4 separate regions of the Homo sapiens genome follow, and all the other regions are linked to region 2. Evidence: promoter capture Hi-C in human tissues and cell types (Jung and others, 2019). All regions are on one chromosome and are shown on one strand. The core of a region is centred on a gene start or on the middle of the fragment in contact, and the rest is flanking DNA. Distances in the headings are between cores, read along the strand shown.

Evidence for each region. The method cuts DNA at HindIII sites, captures the fragments that hold promoters and counts their contacts. A contact is called where the count stands out against the background at its distance.
Region 1: a contact is called between a fragment that was not itself captured here and the fragment with the promoter of GUCA2A in region 2, in 2 of the 25 tissues and cell types used here (aorta and dorsolateral prefrontal cortex).
Region 3: a contact is called between a fragment that was not itself captured here and the fragment with the promoter of GUCA2A in region 2, in 2 of the 25 tissues and cell types used here (dorsolateral prefrontal cortex and lymphoblastoid cells).
Region 4: a contact is called between a fragment that was not itself captured here and the fragment with the promoter of GUCA2A in region 2, in 1 of the 25 tissues and cell types used here (dorsolateral prefrontal cortex).

What each region holds. Positions count from the first base shown.
Region 1 is chr1:42,433,094-42,436,603 of GRCh38, forward strand. It overlaps ZMYND12 (zinc finger MYND-type containing 12), which reads right to left. Exons shown (of 8, transcript NM_032257.5): 5 at 3,328-3,450; 6 at 2,181-2,292; 7 at 50-195. Among named protein-coding and RNA genes, the nearest start is that of ZMYND12, 21 kb to the right of the region's middle. The HindIII fragment of the contact is 6,264 bases long and covers 1-3,510 here.
Region 2 is chr1:42,162,905-42,166,302 of GRCh38, forward strand. It overlaps GUCA2A (guanylate cyclase activator 2A), which reads right to left and starts at 1,841. Exons shown (of 3, transcript NM_033553.3): 1 at 1,734-1,841; 2 at 499-706; 3 at 1-66. The coding sequence starts at 1,808. The coding sequence ends at 2. RefSeq lists an enhancer at 1,701-2,665. The HindIII fragment of the contact is 10,088 bases long and covers 1-3,398 here.
Region 3 is chr1:41,848,116-41,851,573 of GRCh38, forward strand. All of the region lies in intron 1 of HIVEP3 (HIVEP zinc finger 3), which reads right to left. Among named protein-coding and RNA genes, the nearest start is that of HIVEP3, 69 kb to the right of the region's middle. The HindIII fragment of the contact is 7,187 bases long and covers 1-3,458 here.
Region 4 is chr1:41,830,258-41,833,580 of GRCh38, forward strand. The region is part of intron 1 of HIVEP3 (HIVEP zinc finger 3); the gene reads right to left. Among named protein-coding and RNA genes, the nearest start is that of HIVEP3, 87 kb to the right of the region's middle. The HindIII fragment of the contact is 4,895 bases long and covers 1-3,323 here.

The DNA of each region.
Region 1 (3,510 bases), core at 1,011-3,510, 270 kb after region 2:
TGAATTTCTACCTTCATTTTAGACGTGTTGCTTTTTTAGGGAAACTTGCCTTTGAAGAATTCATCATCAGGTAGTAAAACATGACCAGGATCTTCAGAACAAAGATGGTTTTTTGGGGGGCTTTGTCAGATGTAGATTCTCGAATGTTCAAGATTGAAGTCAGGATGCGAATGGCTTCTGCTTCTTGGGCTTCATCTGCATTGGAAGGGGAAGAAAGAAAAAACAGGCTCTTGGCAACTGAGTCTGCCCTCATCAAAAGCACTCAGCTGTTAAAGCGCCTGGTCTGCTGAAGCCTTCCCAAGGGCACTGGTGGAAATAGCACCAATTACAGCAAGTTTTTTACCTAGAGGACTCCCTCCAGGTGCAAAGCAGGAAGCTCCGAAGCAGGAGTTTCAGACCGCTTTCCAGCTTTGCTTAGCATGCCATTATCAGAGTAGCCTAAAAATAGGCTCACTCCCACAGGTCCCAAAGTTGCTAAGGTTTCTCTCTTTCGGAGTCCTGAACTCTAGATCTCTTGGGCTTACAAACACAGATAATCTGCCACAGGCAGATTCCTTGGGTCCAACTCAGATTCCACTCTACAGCTGAGAGGAGAGAACTGGGGGAAGGGACTTCTTGCAGCTGCAGCAGCTTAACTCTTCTCGTCTAGGCCATAGATGCGTAAGCAACAACCTTCATGCTTCCCTCTGAGAGTCTGTTTACTATTTTCCCCAGTAGTTTTTGGTCCTACTTTAGTCATCATTTACTGAGAAGTCACTACATGCATTTAAAAGCACTTATACAAGTACTAAGCTTAGAGAAAAAGACGAAAAGGATATACACCATCATGTTAAGGTTGGCTATCTTTGGATATCTATGATTTCCAAGTTTTCAGCTATAACATGAACTATTTACATAATGAGAGAAAATTCAATAAAGTTATTAATTTTTTAAACTTTAGCTCAAAACCTCTCCTCCAAAGAGTCTTCCTTCTTCAACACCACCCAGCTGTCCTCACCTCTTCATTCTGGGACTCATCTTGTAACATAATTTGTACTCACAGGAATGTTCTTTTGTTATTGCCTATAGGTTCTATATCACCAACTGCACTGTATGTCTCTTTTGAGCAGAAACTAGATCCTCTGTGTCTTTTCATTGTCTCTGAGGGCATGATGCTGTACGGTACTATTCAACACTTAGCCCTTTGCTGGCCCGGGGAATACAGTTTAATCCAACTGGGCCCTGCCACTGAGAAGCTCACTGTTCAGTAAAGCATGAAGTTAAGGCACCAGAAGAAATCAGCAATGCACCTTCTGTGTAGAGTCTACCTTGGCTTACGTGTCCTGGAGCAAGAGTCCCCAACCCCCAGGCCATGGACCAGAACTGTTTTGTGGCCTGTTAGGAATCGGGCTGCACAGCAGGTGGTGAGCAGGGGTGGTAGGGGCGAGTAAAGCTTCATCTGTATTTACAGCCACTCCCCATTGCTTGCATTACCACCTGAGCTCCACCTCCTGTCAGTTCAGCAGCAGCATCAGATTCTCTTAGGAGCGTGAACCCTATTGTGAACTGTGCATGCAAAGGATCTAGGATGTACACTCCTTATGAGAATCTAATGCCTGATGATCTGTCACTGTCACCCATCACTCCCAGATGGGACCATCTAGTTGCAGGAAAACAAGCTCAGGGCTCCCACTGATTCTACATTATGATGCATGGTATAATTATTTCATTATATATTACAATATATTAATAATAATAAAAACATAGTACACAATAAATGTAATGCACTTGAATTCTCCTGAAACCATTCCTCCCACGCCCCCCAGTCCATGGAAAAATTGTCTTCCATGAAACGGGTCCCTGGTGCCAGGGAGAGATTGGGACTGCTGCCCTGGAGGGATAACATAGAAATGGATGCTCTGCAGAAATCACAGGGGGCTTTGATGTGGTCTTTTTTTCCCTCTAAATCTGTCCCTTAGTAACCCCCGAATGGCTATGTGTGATGATAGGGATCTGAATTCTTCCCAACACTGGTAAAATCTCTTTGATCCCCGTGTCTCAGTTTTCTCCATCAGCAACATGGGGAAGGTGGCAATGGTGTGCTTCATGACAGGGACAGCTGCTTTCCCTCTTAGGGACAAGGTCTGTGTATTGGGTGAGATGAAGTCACTGCTCTCCCTTCAGGGAAAACTGCCACTTACCCAAGCCAGTGTCATTCTCAAATAGTTTGCCCAGTAAATCCATTTGTTGGATGTGAGCCTGTGAGAGGACTTGATAGTGATTGTTCAAATATGCATGCCAGATCTCAGAGACCTGTTGGGAAAAGAGATGGTAATACAACAAGCAGGCCAGACCTCAGCCGTCGGACCAGGCAGGTGAGGAGAGTAGCGCATTTGGCCGGGCTTCTGGACAACCTGGAGGTTCTCTCTCTTACTGTGCCTGGAGGCAGAGGGAACCCTAGGAGCCCAAACAGGCCTGGCCAAGGTAAGTGTGACAAGTGATGGGCTGAAAAGGGCCTGTGGCAGCTCATCTTGGGGTAGCCCTAGTGGGGTCTAATAACAGTGGTTATCTTTTGTATAGCACACACAACACGAAACCTTCACATCCTCACAACATCCTGATGTAATATTCTTATTATTCCCATTTTACATGTAAATAAACCGAGGCTCAGAGAAGATCACACACGACTTCTGGTAAGAGCTGTTAAGTGGCATAGCCAGAATTTAAACCCTGGTCTATCTGATTCTAAAGCTTTTAAACTACAGCAAAATGCCTCTTTCTCAGAAGCAGGTCTAAAACATGAATCAACAATCAGCAGAAAGCCTGTATTACACATTTATTACACAAATGATTGCCTGCTAAGTGAGGTGTTACTATATGGATACAGCTGACATTTTAATATATTGGAAACAGTTTAAAATATTTTACATGTAAATATGGAAATTTCTCATGTTCTTGGATCCCTTGACAGGATCTTGTAGCAACAGACTTCCCTTGGAAATCTCCTTCTCTATCGCACACTTCAATAAGCCCACATTAGCTTGCTGCTATGGGTATGACACAGCATACAACAGTCTATCTGAAGGGGTTTGGCTCTTACTGACCTGTCCTTCATTATTCGTTAATCACCCTACGGATGTTAAGGGTTAGTCTATTTTGGTAGTGGAGACACTGGAAGAAAGAAAATGGAGTATATCATGTATCAGGCTATATAGTCTTGGGCAAGCCACTTCATCTCTCTGTGCCTCTCTTTCTCATGAATGGTATGTTTTTCATGAATAGTCTAATACAAGTTGTAAGACACCAAGCCTAAGAGTGAAGGCTCAGCTCCCACATTCCCCAGCTCACCTTGGTGTACAATGTGTCTGCCAGGTCCAACTTTTTAAGGTCATAGAATATATTAGCCAGGTGGAAGTAGCCTCCTGAAGTCCTAATGTCCTCTGTTCCAAATGCACAACTGGCAAAATAAATCTATAGCAGAAGGAAGAAGGAGAGTGCTTGAGTTCCTTTTGCAAATCATATATCTGATAA
Region 2 (3,398 bases), core at 591-3,090:
CCTAGCATCCGGTACAGGCAGCGTAGGCACAGATTTCACATGTGCCCGGGTCCTCAGCGATTTCCTCTGCACAACAGAGATGGAGCCTCGTGAGAACCAGCATTTCCTCGCGAGGCCCCTGCCGCCCTTGGCCCAGAGCTTGTACGTCACCACCCAGCCCCAGGAGAATCTCAGCAGGCCCGTACTCTGACCTACTGGGCTTTTCGCCCCAAACCAGGGCACACAGACCACTCAAACCAACCAATCAAAGCAGAGATTCCACCAGAAAGAGAGGAAACTAAGACCAGATGAATGGTCTTAGTTCCCAAACCTCAGCAGTTACAACTTGGAATTGAAGTGGGCATGGAACAGACCCACCAATCAGAGCCAAGCTCCCTAGTTCCACCAGTCAGAGCTGAGCCCTTCCTCCAAATCCCACCAATCAGAGCACATCTCTTCCTCAAGTGCCACCACAGTATTCCCGAACCCCACCAATCAGAGAGGAAGGAGGCTGCTCACCCAGCCTCTGAAGTATCTCCTGGGCATTGGGCTCCTTGCAGAGAGGCTTGAGTTCTTCTGGAAAGTTCGGGTTGCTACAGAGGATGGGAACCACAGGTTCACCAGGGATGGGTGCAAAGTTCCTGAGTTTCCCAACCCTGGGCTCCTGGGGCTCCTGGAGGTCTTTGAGCTTCTTCACTGACTCCAGAGAAAAGGAGAAATTTCCATCCTGGAAGAGAGAAGCCCAGAGCATGAGGCCAGGCTGCAGCCTGCTTCCTGGCTGTGCCCCCCGTGCTGGCCCCGGTCCAGCCCAGTGGTGCTCACAGGCAGTGTTCGTGGCATATGGGAGCCAGGCGATCCACAGTGGGGCACTGTGAGGGGCAGAGTTCAGGCCCCACGTCCTGGCTTGGCTCCGTGATGCTGGACACTCTGGAACCCGCAAATTCTGCATGTTGTATGGGGAATGGAGAAAATGGGTGTGAAGCTCCAGGAACACCATAGGTGCCTAATGAGTAGGAGCCAGTGTGCTGATTTTTAGGGAGAGGCAAAGGACCAGCACCCAGGCATCGTAGTTCCACGTGGCCAAGCCCAGGCTGTCTTTCCCCTGCCTGAGAGCGGTGCGGCTGATTACTGGGCCCCCAGCTCCAGCCTGCAGCCTGGTTTTGGTTTGAGAAGCAATAAAAGGCCTCCCGGAATCTGGCTTTGATAGAGATCAGGGCCCCCGCTAGGTGCCAGCTTGGCCTGTCGCCAGCATTGGCACTGGTAGGCATACCCATCTGTCAGGACCTCCAGGGTGTCCATGTGGTTCCTGGGACCCACTGAGGAGTAAGGTCTGGATTTAAATCCAGCTCCTGCACTTCCCACAGCCATGTGCCCATGGCCTGTTACAGAACCTTTGTGAGGCTCAGTTTTCCCCTCTGTAAAATGGGACTAATGATCCCTTTCTTCCAGGTTGATAGTGGAGCCACAGTGAGGGGCTGGGGAAGGAGCCGGCACATAGGACACTCAGTAAATTGGCCAACTCCCCGCCTTCCCCATATGGTTATTCCTCTTCCCTCCACTGGGTTTCTTTCTCCTCCAAAGTTGAAGGGAAAGGTGTGTGTGTGGCTGGACTGAGCAGGAGCTCCTCGAAGAAGGCCAAGCCTGGGACACACACCCTCAATCCAGCCCCAAAGAGGAGGTACTCTCTCAGGGGACCAGACCTGGGCACTAGGGGCAGGGAGCCAGCTGGGCCGGGGTAGGGACACAGGACTCACCTGCACGGTGACCCCTCCTGCCAAGGCGGCCCAGGCCCCAAGGAGGCACAGTGCGGAGAGCAGGAAGGCATTCATGGCAGCAGTGCCCGAGAGAGGGGTGGCTGTTCTGGATGCCAGGGGGAAGCGGCGGGACTTTTAAAGAGGGCAGGTTACTGAGTAACCTGGAAGCCTCTGTCAGTCTCATCTGCTCACCTGTCAGGCCTTATCAGATAAGGCTCGAGACAGCCCTAGGAGATAAGAGCCAGGCAGGGGGGGCCCCGGCCCCTCCCTGAGCACCTACTTTGACCCACAGCCGGGCTGGGTCCTGCATTCATTCACCAACAAGGCACATTCACTCACGACTGCCCTGTGCTGCTGTGTGGGGCCGGCAGACCCTGCCCTTGAGGAGGGGGGCCCAGCCCGACAGTGAAACGCAGGGCGATTAGGGTGGGGTGATCCTAGGATGAGGTGACGGGGCTGCACTGGGGGCTGAGCTCTGGAGAATGGGTGGAAGTTTTCCCAGAGAAGGGACTGAGGACAGAAGGCCATTTCATGCCAAAGGGACAGCCAGGAGGTGAGACGGGCCTGGAATATTCAGGGAAATGTGAGAAATTCCACGGGGGAGGCTGCAGGGCAAGTCAGGGTCTGGGTTTGATTGCCGCGACCTCAAGGAAGCCCTCCGCACAGCCTGGGTTCCGTTCCACCTACTGCCCAGTTGTGAGGCGTGTGAACTTGGGCCAATGCTTTCCCCTCTCTGAGTCTCGTTGTCCCTTGTGTCCCCTGTGGGAACCAAAAATAATACCTACCTCATGGGGTAGGTGTGTGGTAGGCATTACTGTTTGGAGAATCAAGTGAGGTTTTAAAAACATTTAGCTCAATGCCTGGCACACAGAAGGTGCTCAGCAGAGGTCCATTCCCATATTATTAGCAGCCACAGCAGCTCCTGGTCCTCCCTGGCCCCTCTGGTGACCTCCTGCCTGTCTGAGTCACAGGCTGTCCCCATCCTGTGCTGGTCCCCATCCTGTCCTGCCTGCCCTGCAGCCTCAGGGTGTCCTCGAATGAGCTCCTCCCCAATCCGCCCGCCCCCCTTGCCCCTGCAGATACAGTCCCCTTTCCGCGGATCTCACTGGGGAATTGCTTGGGTGTGCCCGCGCCCCTATAGACTCTGACCCCATTCAGACTGCGCCCTCAGGGCAGCGTGCATTCACTGTGTGCTGTTGTGAGCAGGAATCCCCAGGACACAGGAGAAAGGGTAGCCCTGGGATTGTCATCTTTCTACTCAGCCAACCTGGCCCGATGCCAGGACAGCCCTAGGGCGGGAGGTTGGGCAGGAATTCCTGGGTGGGGAGAGTCAACACTGAAGAGGGAATTGGAGAGAGCAGGGCCTGACCAGGAGGGAACTGCAGGGACAAGGCCCTCAGGGAGGGGCAGGTAGCTCCTGGCCCAGCTCCCAGGGCAGTCCTCACAGCTGCACTGGATTTCCCACCCCTTTCTGGTGAGTGTGTGTGTGTGTGTGTGTGTGTGTGTGTTAAGGGGGGGTGTGTCTGCGGAGATGTGTATGTCTGTGTATGCCAAGGTGTCTGTATATACCCTGATGGGTGTGTGTAGCCAAGGTGTGTTTGTATGTGTGCTTGTGCTGAAGGTGTGTGTGTGCTGAGGCATGTGTGTACACTGAGGAGTGTATGT
Region 3 (3,458 bases), core at 388-2,887, 310 kb before region 2:
CCACAGCTGAAATGGGAATAACATGCTTAAAGGTGGATATGAGATGGCCAAAGTCCCATGAGGAATGGCCTCCAGGTATGATGATGAAATCCAGTGCAGGAGGGAAGGTCTCTTCTCATAGTATCCAATTGCAAAACTGGTCAAAATTCAACCATTTTCTCAGGGTTATTCTAAAAGCTGTTGGACTTGTACTGCTTCTTTGGCTTCTCTGGCTCTTGTTCCAGCTTTTGCAGTTACAAAATGAGAAAGACCTCGCTGTGCTGTCCTCCATTCAGTGGGTTCTGGATGGATTGCCAGATGATGTGAAGGGCTCTTGGTCATGGCTGGTACCTGCAAACACGGAGAGTGCTTATCACCATTGGACTCTACTGTGCCATTTCCATCATGTCAATCATGGATAGACATGAGATAAGGAGGATGGAATCGGCAGTGGGCAGGACACAATAGGAAGCGAGGGAGGGGAGAGGGCAACAGGGTGGAAGGGTAGAGAGAATTGCAGGAAGAAGGAGGGACCCAGGAATGGCCCAACATCCTCAGAGATGAAAGATTACAGAAAGAGGGCAGAAGGCGAGAGCAGAGAGGCCATGCCAGCTTGGGCTGGAGCAGTCAGATTCCTCACCACACCCTTGTCCCTGCTGTGCCCATCTGCTGCCCTTTCTTTGCCTTCTGGCCCTGTAGGAGCCATCCCAGCCCCACATCCCAAGCCCTACCTGTGACTACCCCTCCCCTAAGCCCTACCAGAGAAATGAACTTACTTCTACCCTTCGTGGGCCGCATGCCTCCAGCTCCAGCTCTTCTTGGGGCTCCAGAGTGTGCCAGTTTCCCTTCAAGCACCAGTGTCCTCAACCTCTGGCATGGTATTGGAATCTGTGCCTTCAGAACCTCCTTTCTTCCCATTCTTCAGGACGTTTGTCCCTCGACTGGACAAGATCCAGCAGGAGTGGGCAACACAGGAACAAATCCGAGACACCAGACTGAGAGGGACAGGAAGGGGAAACACGGGGCAGTCCTGGGTGATCTGGACCATCTGGTCACCTCATTCTAGTTCACGAGTGGACATTTAGATAAGGGAAACCAAACTGAATCAGAACTCTAAACTCAGTGTGCAGCAGGGTCACCAGATTGCTTATTCTATGGCACCTGAGACCTTTCATCACCACTGATCTTCACGACAGATGCACGCAGATATATCTACCAAGGACTTAGAAACCCAAGACAGTTTCATACTTTAAAAATGTGTGGAAACTAACCATGCACAAACTTCTCCAATTACATCAGTCTCCCCAGAAGCACATCCAACAGCACTCTGTCACAACTTCTGGAAGCAGCCTGCCTCCTTGCTAACCCCTCCTCCATGCAGATGCTCACCTAGAGGAGTGGATGGGACATAATACCAAGGAGGAGAGTGTGGGTCCAGTCCTAGCACAGGCCAGGAACATTTTCTGCTTTAGAGTCACAGGACTGTTCACCAAGCCAAGCTGAATAAACATCTTATTGCAATATTTGCACAGACATGCAACTACTTGCTGTGACCATGACAGTGACTGGAATGTAAGGATCCATCAGTGGTAGACCCAAATCTTTTTTTTTTTTTTTTCCAAGTCTTGCCCTGTCGCCCAGGCTGGAGTGCAATGGCGCAATCTCGGCTCACTGCAACCTCTGCCTCCTGGGTTCAAGCAATTCTCCTGCCTCACCCTCCCGAGTATCTGGGACTACAGGCATGCACCACCATGCCCAGCTAATTTTTGTATTTTTAGTAGACATGGGGTTTCACCATGTTGGCCAGGCTGGTCTCAAACTCCTGACCTTGGGATCCACCCACCTTGGCCTCCTAAAGTGCTGGGATTACAGGCATGAGACACCACGCCTGGCCGGTAGACCCAAATCTTAAAGCACATACTCTACTCTAGTGGTTCCTAAACTTTAGCATGCATCAGAATCATTTGTAGACTTTGTTAAAACACAGAGTTTTGGTTACACTCCTACGGTTTTTTAATCAGTAGGTCTGGGGTGGAGGCTGACAGCTAGAGTTTCTAACAAGTTCCCAAGCCCAGCTATTGCTGGTCCAGAGACCACACTTTGAGAACCACTGGTCTACCACCAACAGTGTTCAATAGTATCACCTGTCTTATATCAAAGGAACCACTAATGACTCACTCGCACTCAGCCCTGTAACCTCATCCAAAGCAGAGGCACAGAAAAGGCCACCACACACACAAAGAAAAACTGTTTACAAAATGTTTTTATTTTAAGGTTAAGAATAAAAGGAGCCTTAGGGTTCATATAATCTAACTACCTCACTTAATATAATATTAATTAAACTAAGCTTAGAGAGGGTAACTTGCACACAGAAACAATGAAACAATCAATAGAACCCAAACCAGGAACCCCAGCAGCACTACTCTCAAAATCGCAAACGTGGAGTCCTAGAAAATCTCCTAATTTTTGTCGTCATTAGAGTCACAAGGCTCAAGAGTCTGCAACTGGCAAATTAGGGCTTCCCCTTCTGGTCCTCCATGCCGAAGCACTCAGGCCATGCCATGGTCATTTCTTAGTAAGGCTATGATGGAAGCAATTCTTGGTTCCCTCCAAGTTCAACTGTGAGTCCACTGCCTAGAACTCAGAACTGGTTTTCTCAGAAATCCCATAGCACACGTGGAGGGTTCCTGGGAGAACTCTTCCTACTAGGCACCACATTGTTGAACTGCAGTGATGATAGCCCACAGGATCTAACCATCATGAAGAATATAATTTCCTAAAATTCCATTCTGAGTTTCAACTTGGACCTGTGCTGGTCCCTCTTCCTGGAAAACTGCTGCCCCAGTTTTCTCATGTCAGGCTCCTTCTGTATGTTTCCTCTTGCAGAGTATCTCCTGATCATCTACCCAAGTAGTTCTCACTCCCCTCCTGCCAGTTACACTGCATCTCATCAGCCTTCTCTACACTCCTTATAGCCCTAGAACTATATAAAACATTTGTTCATCATCTACTTGCTCATTACCCCCTGAAAGTAGGATGTGAGCTTCGAGAGGGCAGGAACTTTACCTTTCTGTCTACCACTATAACCGCAGCACCTAGAACAGTGCTTGGGACACAGCAGATTCTCTATACATATCTGTCTAATGAACAAATGAATGTACAGAAGAATGATGAGAGAGCACCTTCTTCTTCTTCTTTTTTTTTTTTTTTTTTTTTTTTTTTTTTTTGAGACAGAGTCTTGCTCTGTTGCCAGGCTGGCGTGTAGTGGCATGATGTTGGCTCACTGCAACATCTGCCTCCTGGATTCAAGCAATTCTCCTGCCTCAGACTCCCAAGTAGCTGGGTCTACAGGCACGTGCCACCACACCTGGCTAATTTTTGTATTTTTAGTAGAGACAAGGTTTCACCATGTTAGCCAGGATGGTCTCAATCTCTTGACCTCGTGATCTGCCAGCCTCGGCCTCCCAAAGTGCTGGGAT
Region 4 (3,323 bases), core at 423-2,922, 330 kb before region 2:
CTTCAGTGCCCATCCCATAAGTTGGAAGTCAGTAAATGTCAACAAGTATGTGACCAATAAATGAATATTCAAACAAGGCAAAAATAAGACAGGAGAAAGGTGTTTTTATGTCCTTCAGTGGGAGAAACCTGCAAGCAATACATCTTTGGTGCCCTGATGACAGGCTATGGTGGATGCTGCGGTACTGCCCAGGTCCCCTCCAGCATGGAGCCACTCATTCTTCTGGCTGCTGGGAATGTTGTCTGCTGACAGCTCACACTTGAGTCTCTCCCAGGAATTCTGAAGGGAGCTGTGTTACCAAGGCCATACACCTTTCCCAAAAGCAGTCTTTATCCACTGACTGATCACTCGCACAGGGACAAAGACCTGGCTCCTTTGCCGCAATGTGGGACAACTCTAAAGAGCCATTTCAGCTCCAGAACTCTGTAGCATGGACTCAGGCCCTTGTTGGAATTGCATCACAGTTCAACTTTTCCCTCTCCCCCACCCTGTGTCCCTCCCACCCCAGTGAACTTCCTACACATAGATCCATCATCTCTGAGTCTGTTTCTGAGGAAGCCAACCTGTGACAGTGGGTACCAGGAGTAAGAGCTGGGAGGTGGGAGTATGTTGGCTCTTGCTGGAAGCTTCTTATCCCTACGCGTTCGTGACTCACTTTATTCATGGCTTGTCTCAAATGTACTATCTCAGAGATGACTTCTCTGGCAGTGTTGTCCAACTATTCCCAAATCATTGCTAGCATATTTCCCCATTTTGTCTCCTCCTATGCAGTCATCCACATCTGAAGTCATCTTGTTCTTTTTTTCTTATTGTTTTTTCTCACTCTCACATGAGGATGTGAACTGCAGAGGACAAATACCTTGCTATACTGCTCACTACTATCTCCAGCTTCTAAACAGCACCCAGCACCATGTAAGCTCCTAAGAAATATTTATTGAATGAATGAATGAGAATCTGCACACACATTCATAGTGGGAAGAACTGGGCTGAGAGTGGGAAACCCTCATTTCCAGCTCTGTTTCTGCCATTAACCATCTGGGTGACCTCAGGCAAGCCACCTGACTTCTCTGAGCCTCAGTTTTCTCATCTGCGGAATGAGATGGTAGAATGTGATGATCACTAGAAATTGTGACAGCTCCAGCATCCTATAATTTTACATGGTTATTCAGCTTGGAATTGTTCTGTCTATAAACTACATTCTATGGGAATCATACAGTTTTTTATGCTGAAACGGAGCTTCCCAGAGCATTTCACAATATCCAATGAGTATCGGCTTTCAGATGCCAATTTCATTATTATACCAATGCTAGAAAAACTTTCATGTGAGACGCTGCAGTTAAGGATATGTTCAACATGGGGTTCATCAAAGCTTTAGAGCACTGTGAAATAACCATTCTCCTATTTGCATAAATATCATGAGAACTAAGTCTCTTTCTCAAGTCCCACGAGGTAATGAAAAAGTGAACACTGGTTGAGGCTGCCTGTGCACCAGGCATGAGTCTGTGCTCATGGGAGGCAGTGAACACCTCACCTGGCCTGGAGCAAGCATTCAAGGAATGCTGGCTCTTAACATCTGTCTCATTTAATCCAAACAACAGTCAGTTTGAGGTGGGACTCTTAACCCCACCTTGGAGTTAAGGACACAGAAGCACTGAGATTTACCTAATCTACCCAAAGTCATCGAACTAATAAGTAAGTGATGGAGCCAGGGTTGGAATCTGGACAGTCAGGGTCTAGAGCGTTGCCATTTATCCACTACACTAGAGCTGTCTCAATTTTCTTAAAATTCAGATTCTGAATCAGAATGTTTGGGGTCAGCCTCGAGATCTGCATTTCTAACTATTTCTAGGTGATGTTGATGCTTCTAGCCTATGGCTCAGGCTTTCAGTTGTAAAAGTACAGAAGAAGGAACTCCTGCTAAAAGTCAGAAACTAGCCTCTGGTCCAGCCCTGGCAAATGCTGGCAATGAGACCATGGCTAAGTGACCTCTCCTCACAGGCTCACTCATGCCTGTGATCCCAGCCCTTTGGGAGGCCAAGGTGGGAGGATCACATAAGCCCAGGAGTTCAAGACCAGCCTGGGCAATGTGGCAAGACCCTGTCTCTACAAAAATTTTTTAAAAAATTAGCCAGGCATGGTGGTGTGCCCCTATAGTCCCAGCTACTCGGGAGGCTGAGGTGGGAGGATCACTTGAGCCTAGAACACAGAGGCTGCAGTGAGCCAAGATCATGCCACTGCACTCCAGCCTGGATGACACAGTGAGACCCAGTCTCAAAAAAACAAAAATTACTGGGTGTGTGTGAAAGCACTTTATAAACCAGAAAACTCAAAAGCAAGGGGACAGAAATTTGCTTATCCACTCGTCTTTTTCCCTCTAGGATGTGAGTCTTTGAGCCAGCACAAAGCAGTGGTGCCTGGCACATAGTAGATATTTAGTAAGTGTTCAAAGTGCCAAGTACTTTAAATGTTATGTAATTTAATCTTCACAACAATCTCTGATTCACATTTTACAGATAAGGAAACTGAGACTGCCTAATACACCCTCAAACTACTAAAGCAGTAAATGCTGAAGCCCAGATTTTAAATGAGATCTGTCTGGTTCCAAAACCAATGCTGATTTTACCCTCCACTCCCATTATTCCTCCCACATAGGGGTCTGGCTGAGGTCTAGGAATGGATCCAGATTTTGCTTCTGCACCTGTCACATGGGCACTGGGAGTCCAACTCCTTCTTAGAACAAATGAGGGCTCTGGTCTAGGGACAGATCCTACAAATGCAAGTAGAAGCTCTTCATTTTAGGGGTGGGAGAAGGCACGGAAATAATTCAGCTAAAATAAACCCTTCAAGTATTCTGCAATGAGAAGCAAAGTCAAGGTCTTCCTATTATCAGGGCCCCCAAAGCCAATCCAGAATGTACAGGTTCAACAAGTTCAAAGGAGCAAATGCCTGGAACAGTGGCTCTAAAAGTGGGGTCCACCAGGGTCTCTGGATGGCCCTGCTGACCAAAGTATTTTGTTCTTGACATTAATTTATAGCTCCAGCATTGGTAGGAAACTTAGGGGTCATGGAGTGCAGCTTCCCACACAATGCAAAGCCACATGAGGGGGCTGGTTTTTGAGGTCTTGAGTCCACTGACCAACTCAATTTGAGGCTCAATGGCTTAGAGAAGGAAAAAAACTAAAGTAAGAGGTTGATACTGTTCCTATCCTAGAGGCAAGGAAACAATGCTCAGAAAGGCTAAGGAATTTAGTCCAAAGCACAAAGGCACGAATGGTAGAGATAAGGCCTGAACCTAGGGACAACTGACTCCAAAGTCTATGCCC